Regions from separate parts of the Homo sapiens genome. Here region 2 is linked to region 1. The links are contacts of gene promoters, found by promoter capture Hi-C in human tissues and cell types (Jung and others, 2019). All regions are on one chromosome and are shown on one strand. Each heading gives the region's core, a stretch centred on a gene start or on the middle of the fragment in contact. The rest is flanking DNA. Distances are from core to core; before and after follow the strand shown. Region 1 holds the start of RAB17 (RAB17, member RAS oncogene family). Region 2 overlaps COL6A3 (collagen type VI alpha 3 chain).

Evidence for each region. Contacts are between HindIII fragments. The study calls those that stand out against the background at their distance.
Region 2: a fragment that was not itself captured here is called in contact with the fragment with the promoter of RAB17 in region 1 in 2 of the 25 tissues and cell types used here (IMR-90 fibroblasts and aorta).

The regions. Positions count from the first base shown.
Region 1 is chr2:237,589,225-237,591,983 of GRCh38, forward strand. RAB17 (RAB17, member RAS oncogene family) reads right to left here and starts at 1,510. Exons shown (of 6, transcript NM_022449.4): 1 at 1,243-1,510. It overlaps RAB17-DT (RAB17 divergent transcript), which reads left to right and starts at 1,936. Exons shown (of 3, transcript NR_187201.1): 1 at 1,936-2,043; 2 at 2,648-2,759. The HindIII fragment of the contact is 5,809 bases long and covers 613-2,759 here.
Region 2 is chr2:237,402,056-237,406,902 of GRCh38, forward strand. The region is part of intron 1 of COL6A3 (collagen type VI alpha 3 chain); the gene reads right to left. Among named protein-coding and RNA genes, the nearest start is that of COL6A3, 9.7 kb to the right of the region's middle. The HindIII fragment of the contact is 6,379 bases long and covers 1-4,847 here.

The sequences.
Region 1 (2,759 bases), core at 260-2,759:
AAAAAGGTTATTTTACTATAAACATACAAGTGTCAATATAAAAGAAGCAGCTACCCATAACTCCACCCCCGTAATACAACCACAAATGGTATTTTTGCCTACTTCTAGTTTTTTTCTATGACTCCTAAAAACAAACCAAAACCCATAGTTTTAACATAAAATTATTATCCGATGGGTAAGAAATACTTAATACCAAAGGCAGTCTCACACATTGCTTCAAAATCATGTTTAATGGACATATAACATTTCTACAACTATCTCAACTTGCTGAACCATTTTCCTAATACTGGATTTTTACTTAGTTTTAATTTTTTCTCTGTAATAAGACTGCAGTAAACATTTTCTTATATAACTTTTTGTGTGATTGAGTGTTGTAAGCTTTCAATAATGAGAGGTTGGAGCCTTCTGTCCAAAGAGAAAATTAAAAGTGTGGCACCTGACCCCCACCTCCAGAATTTAATCAAGATGGGGTTATTAGTAGTGAAAGATGTTATTAGGTTGTTGAAGACAAAGATGTTTTCAGGAACACCATATTCAAGACTGGCGCTTCTCTAGTAATCTTAACTTGGGGCTTTTTAATCTCTTGCACCTCCCTTCCACTAAAGGGAAAAAAAACGGAGAGCAAATCCCACATTAGTCTTTTTTGCGGGGAAGGGGCCATTCCAGGGAAGGGTCTGATTGATGAGTCTATCGGCAACTGTGATCCTGTGTCACCCTTGCCTGGGGCCTGTGAAGAATATTGAGATTACGAGAGGTACACCTGTACATTGCATTCAGAATACAGCCATCTGATACAGAAAACACAATGTAGATTGTAAAAAGGAGTTTACAAGAAAACCTGACAAGCTTCCTAGATATCACTGGGTATTAAATTGGGAATGTTGATGTCATTTGAAATGGATTTCTTTAAGAGTTCTTCTCATTACCAGAAGTTTTTTGTGTTTTTTTTTTTCAAGACCTTAAAACCGGAACTTTCCCGAAGAAAAATGCAAATAAGAATCTCCTTCTGGGAATCCGACTTAGTGAGCCATCAGAAATCTGAACTAGGAAGTCTCCGCCCCAGCTTTGTCCTTTGATTATACACACATGGGCACATGCACAGACACAAACAAATACAGACATGGGTACAAACACGTGAGCACACACACAGACACACAGAGACTCACACACAGAGAAGCAGAGACACACACACACACAGGCAGACACTCCACAAAGGGCACAGAGGTTTAAACAATGACTCACCTGTTCCCCAGGCCCGGTCACTTGCAGGGAGCTGAAGAGCCTGTCATCACCAGTCCACAGCGTTGCTACCTGTCTCCGCTTTCTCCTCTCTCTGGTCCAGGGGAAGGTTTGCTTCCCTCCACAGGCAGGACAGGACAGGAGGAGCCTCTACTCCAATGGAAAACAGCCGCAGAGCAGAGGTCAAGAGCAGCAGCCTCGGACCAGAGCAATGCCCACTGGACCCCAGCGCCAAGGTCAGGCCTCTTCTCCTCCCAGAAGGTTTCAGGGCAAAGTCCACAGTGGTCATGTGGTCACCTGAGGCAGGGCAGGAGGCTGGACCTCAAAGCAGGTGACCCGGGAGCACCTGCGCGCTGCCGGAAGTCAAGTCACATTCCAGTCCTGCATTTCCTGGCACCCAACTGGAGCCCGTTTTTCAGCTTTATTCCGGGGTTTCACTTCCAGGATCTCACTTTGGCACAGAATGTTTTTCTTGGCTCCTTCCTTGGAGCTGTATGGAATCTTTGTTGCACTTGAAAAACCAACAGCCCAGAAGAGAAAAGAATATTCCGGTCAGATGAATTAATTCCTCCCACTGTCAGCTAGAAGCCATCCCTGGCTGAGCCCTGCACTGGCCAGAGGCAACTGAGTGTGAGCCAGTCCAGGGTCAGATCCTGGGCTGATGCCACCTGAGGGCGGGGTGGGGGCGTGGCCTCCGTGCACATGGGAGACTCCAGGTGCAGGAGAGGGGGAGGTGGACTTCCTCTTGGTCTTCCCAAGCCATGAAACTTCCTGGCTTGGTGGTAACAGAAGAGTCTCCTCCAGGTAAGATTTCCAGAGCCTCTGAGTATGGCTGGGGTAGCAGGGTTGGGCCTGAGGCTGAGGAGATGGAAATCTGTTGCCGTGAACATTACTCCACACAGCCAGTATACGGGAAGCCAGCTCACTTTATGTCCTCCAAACTCACCCTAACTTCTCGTTTGGGTCTCATCCCGCGGGGCTGCTGGGAAATAAGCTCCGCCACCACAGTGGTTCCTCCGCCCTGTGGGAGTGGGGGGCTCTTATGCTGGAGGGGGGACACTGGCCTGGACTTCTGCTGAGGCTCTGCCCCTCATCCCTGCAGGACGGACTAGCCAGTCCTAACACAGGACTAGCGTTGCTCTACCACGTCCAAGCCTCCTCTGAGATTCTTCCTCCATGCAACCACTTCCCCTGGGGCGTGGCCACCTCCCTGGAAGCCGCCAGCATGCTCGGCTGGGCCCCCGCACTCTGGAGGCTTGAGAATCTCTCTATTTTTGAATGACGTCCTTATCCTCTGCCCCCAGGCTGGTAACCAAAGGTCTGGGGGTGGTGACGTGCTGGGAATGGTGTAACTCGTGAGATGGAGGCTGAATGTGGAAATACATGAATGTGCTTCTCTTCTCTCCAGTTCCCTTGAAGAATCCACCTTCCTGCAGGGTTGGGGGAGCGCAGAATGGGAGGAAGATACAAATACCAATTTTATAGCAAGAATGCAAAAAGAGGCCAGCGCGGTGGCTCGA
Region 2 (4,847 bases), core at 1,305-3,804, 190 kb before region 1:
CCTTTTATCTACTACAACATGGATGAATCTTGAGGATATTATGCTAAGTGAAATAAGCCAGTCACTAAAAGACAAATGCATTACTTTATAATTCCATTTATGTGAAGGTATTTAAAGTAGTCAAAGTCTTAGAAAAAGAACCTAGAATGGTGTTGGCCATGGGCTGTCAGGAGGGAGGCAGTTGTAGTTACTGTCCCATAGGTATAGAGCTTCTGTTTTGCAAGATCAAAAAGTTATAGATATTTGTTGTAGCACAAGGTGCGTATAGTTAACACTGCTGTACTGTACACTTAAATATAGTCAAGATAGTATGTTTTATGTTATATGGTTTTTACCACAATTAAAATAGAAATGAGGACAGGAAATATCATTTGCCAGGTTTTAAAAGCATGGGTAACTACCCCTAAAATGTAGCCATCAATTTAACAGGAATGATGTAAGTGCAGCATCTCTTTTTTGAGGTGTGATAGAGTTTAAGAGCTACTAGGAAAAAACAGTACAACTAAACATCCTAAAGTGTGTCTACATGCCGCTGTATTCAAATAACACAATGTTTGCCCTTACTTCTAAATAAGATTTGGAAAGAAATAAGAAAAGAGTATATGTCATGCAAAATGTTAGGGTTTGGCAAAGAAGATCAGAGTCTCATGAAAGTGGGAAAGAATCTAATATGAACATTCAGACCTGGTGCAAACATGGCTTCTGCCTTGACTAGTATCCTCTGAGCTTTGGAATCGGCTCCACCCAAGGCCTGAGCTTTTGTATCTCTATCTTAATCTTCCTCTCTCCACAGGTGCCCCCATGGGCTCTGCAAGTCTTCATGGTTGTCTGTTGTGTAGCACAGGAATTCCATTTTCCCCATACAGCTAATGAAATCAGGGATGAGGATGATCTAATGTTCTCAGCCTTGCCACCTGAAGATTGATAGCAGAGGAGAGTCTGTCCGGCTGATGAGTGATGTAACTTTGCCATGAATGGAGCAGCAGACTAGTGTCCAGATGGACCACTTAGCAAAGGTACAGGGAGAGCCACAGAGAGTGATTGAGGCTGCCAGTCAAGGACAGGAGCTAAGTGGGTGCAAAGGAAACCTGAAGCTCAGTCCCGTGGATTTGCCGTGAAATTCCTCCTGCCTGAGGTCAGGCCCAGAGGGAGAAGCTGGAGTCCAAATCTTGCGGCCCAGCTATGAGGAAGACGGAACACAGTGTGGGCCCTAGGCCTGACCCGCCAAAAATTGGTGAGATGGAGACAGATGAAGCCACAAACAAGGGAATGAACACCAGGACCCATGTGGCTTTGGATTTCCAAAGAAAGTCAACAAAAAGTACCACCTGTGATGAAACAAATGTACCCTGTGATTCAGATTCTGAGAACTTGAAGCCATGATCTCAGCAGCTAAAATAGAACCACCTGTCAATACAGCAGTCTCTTGGAAATGCATCAACAGTGAGAAAGGAATGCTGTTCTAATGATGCTCAGGAGGCCAGTTATCAACAGAACAGATATTTTTCTGCAACAAAGTGACAGCAATGAGTGGTGATAGCGGCAGTATTGCAAAAGCTCAGCCCGATTTTTTTTCCCTTGCAATGGTCACTGCCTTTTGGACATGGATATATGTTAACACAATGTAGAAGAGCAGTCTCCAGTGCTTGTGCTGTGGTTTGATAATGCTCCCAAGCTTTAGCCCGGTCGCAGCACAGCAGGGCTCAGGGACCCCCGACAGGCTGGACTGCCTGTTCTCCTCCCTCCACTTAGGTTGACCCTACCCCCACCGTGCCACAGCCCCAACTTTGCCCCTTCACTCTCTAGGAATCCCTCAAGCCCATGCAACCCTGGGAACCTTCCAGACTTTTCCACCAAGCTCTACCTTTCTTCCCTACAGTCTGTTAGACCCATTCCTGAGTGTTTCTTCAAATAAAAAAAAAAAGCAATTGCAATATCTAATTTTTTGTATGACCTCAATTAAATAATGATATACACTTCAGAATAATATAAAAGTACATTTTATATGTGCTATTCTTGATTCGTTCTATCAAGCTTGAGCGTCAATTTTTTTTTAGCAAAGGTAAGCTTCCTGCTAGATTCTTTCTAAGAAAATGGCCTGTTCTTTCCAAAACAACCTGTATTATTGTAACTGGTCCAGATCAATGTTTTAATACGGGATCAACAGATTCAAAGAGTCTATGATCCTCCCACAGTTGAGTGCAAAATTGCATCTATGGATGAGGGTTTTTCTGGAGATAAGGGTCCATGTTTGTATGTGATTCTAAAAGGCAGTTGTGCCACTCCTCACCCCCCAAAAGTTTAAGCATCACTGCTTCAATTAAAAATTTTAATGCAAATCTTCTGGAAGATCCAGTTCGATTACTTTAAATGTTTAATCCATGTTCAAGAGGCATGATTTTAAGTGGTATTTTTGTTTGTGAATGAGAACACAAGAGTATTATAGAGGCTCTTTGTAAAGCATTCGGCTTTGTAATCCAGGTGGAAAAAATAGGACATGATAAGATGAGAGCTGTCTCCTCACTGTTGAGTCTGGGATGGGAAGAGCTGCAGACACCTGTGCAGGGAGCATTGACAAAGAGCACAAGTGAATTATGCCTTGAGCAGGTTTTGCTAATGGTTTTCTTAATCATTCCCATACCTCACACAGTGAAAGCCTTTGAATCCACTGATTCTGTCACATATAAAGCATTGAGTGGGCTCACTCTGGAGCAATTCCAAAATTACATTTCTCATCTTCCAGAGTGCTCAATACAATCTAAATAGTTACAAAATAAAATCCGGGAAGTCTAAGACATCACTCACTTACTTCAACCATTCTGAGTAAAATGAACTTTTAGTTCATTGAAAATCATATGTAAAGATTTTTATTTTCAAGATGTGAATCTTTGGAGGAGTAGCCCCCTCAGTGGAGATACTTCCCATTGGAACACAAAGTAATGGGATAAATACACTGTGCACAGGAATTATTTTATCCAGAATATATCCAGATATTGAGGGAAGAGGAGGGGAGGGAAGAGAAGGAAAGGAGCCCTTCCAGCTCTGAAAAGGACGGGAGATAATGCCTGTAGGACAATGCGTTATCCAGGCTCCACTGATGATTCAGAACCCATATGGTTTGACTGAGCTGAATTCCCAGGTGGGAAAAACGCCTTTGGCCCCACACACTTTCCTGCCATCATGCGGGAAGCAGGTCTTGTGGCTCGTGGGCTCCTAGCCCAGCTGTTGAATATTTGCTGATATTTTCGTTTGCAATTAACTCTCTTCTATTGTTTGTCATGTCCTGGAGTCTCCATTTATAAAAAAACGAAATTCCCTGGCAGCAAATTTTGGAGAACTTTTTCATTTAGATTATTAAAAGATGTCAAACACCATCTCACCAGATGACCACCCGCCCTCTTCAACAAGAGGGAATGAGGCAGCCATCCGCGCTCATTCCCCGACACCACCCTCCCGGAGGAAGGAGAGAGGAGAGTGCTGGTAACGTTTCCTGGGCTTCTGTCTTGTGGGTGGGATTTCACGCCCTCCTCCCAACCATCCGATGGCTGATTTCCCTCCATTTTATAGCTGAGAAATTGAAACCCCAGCAAGGCAAAGTGATTGTTCAAAGCTACATAGATAAAAACAACATAGAACCAGAACCCTAACCCAAGTTAGCATTTCCAAAGCTCATGGGAAGAACCCCGGGAAACCCTAGAGGCTGTGCCAGATTTGGCCCAGATCTCAAGGAAACTCCCCATGCCTTTTGGGGAAAAAATAGACTTCCTTGGTGGTGACACACCACAGATTCTATGTCAATGGAAGTCGGCTGTCTACTATCATTCTTTCAAATATGAAAAAAAGACTCAGAATTGGCTGCTTGAGATCCTTGGGCTGGAAGGGGTCTGTTCCTTCATCCTAGATTCTGTGTCCTAAAGGAAACAGATTCAATAAGAGACATTCATCACATTTTCATTCTCATCTTTCTGTTTAGGATTATTCATCTTTTTGTTTACTCTGCCTCATTCTAAAAAGGATTTGAGGTGCCTTTTTCCGTTTAGTTTCTATCCCTTTGAAATTTAAAAGGATACCTTTCATCAGAAAGATTGCCCTACATGGCCCTTCAACCTGAAATCATATTCAATCATATTCCAATGAATATGATTTCCCAAGCTATTTTGCAATTCTGTAAATTAGTTTTCATTTAGCCTACTCAAAACCTTTTTCATTTTCCATGTCTGGAAATCTTTTTTAAGAAAGAGACACACACGCATGCACACAAGGAAATAGTTTGAAAACAAAGACTCAAATAAATCCAGAGCTTCCATTTTGAAGTCATTTATTTGGTTTTCTCCAAGCACTGCTTTTTAAAATCAGCCTGTCCCTCCTATCAAGTTCTGGGACTTCTGTTAGTTCCTAATTGTCCTGTTTAAAATGGGAGCAGTGGAAATAGTCAAAGACCACAGTGGGAGAGCCGTGCACACTGACTGTGAAATAGAAAGTCAAATTTCAGTAAATTTGAGGCACTCATCCACCCTTGCCTTTGCCACGCCCATTCCTAGACTGCAAGAAGGAGCGCCCCATTTCTTTCTCTTTTTCTCACTCTTTCTCTCTCTTTTTGCACGAATCCTGGGAAAGGAGTCCCCGTTCTTTTCCTCAGGGAGGAAGCTAAGAAAGGATTTATTAAGTCCTGCAATTAGGGTAGGAGGAGAGTGGAATTTAATATGCTCTTGGTGTTTGAAAGACCCAAAGGAGAATCCTCAAAAGAAAATGTTTTGGAAGAGCTCCAAGAAACCTCCAAAGAAATATAGCAAATTTTGTTTTTTTACTGTTTATTTAACAACTTGGATTTCACATTTCTTTCTTTT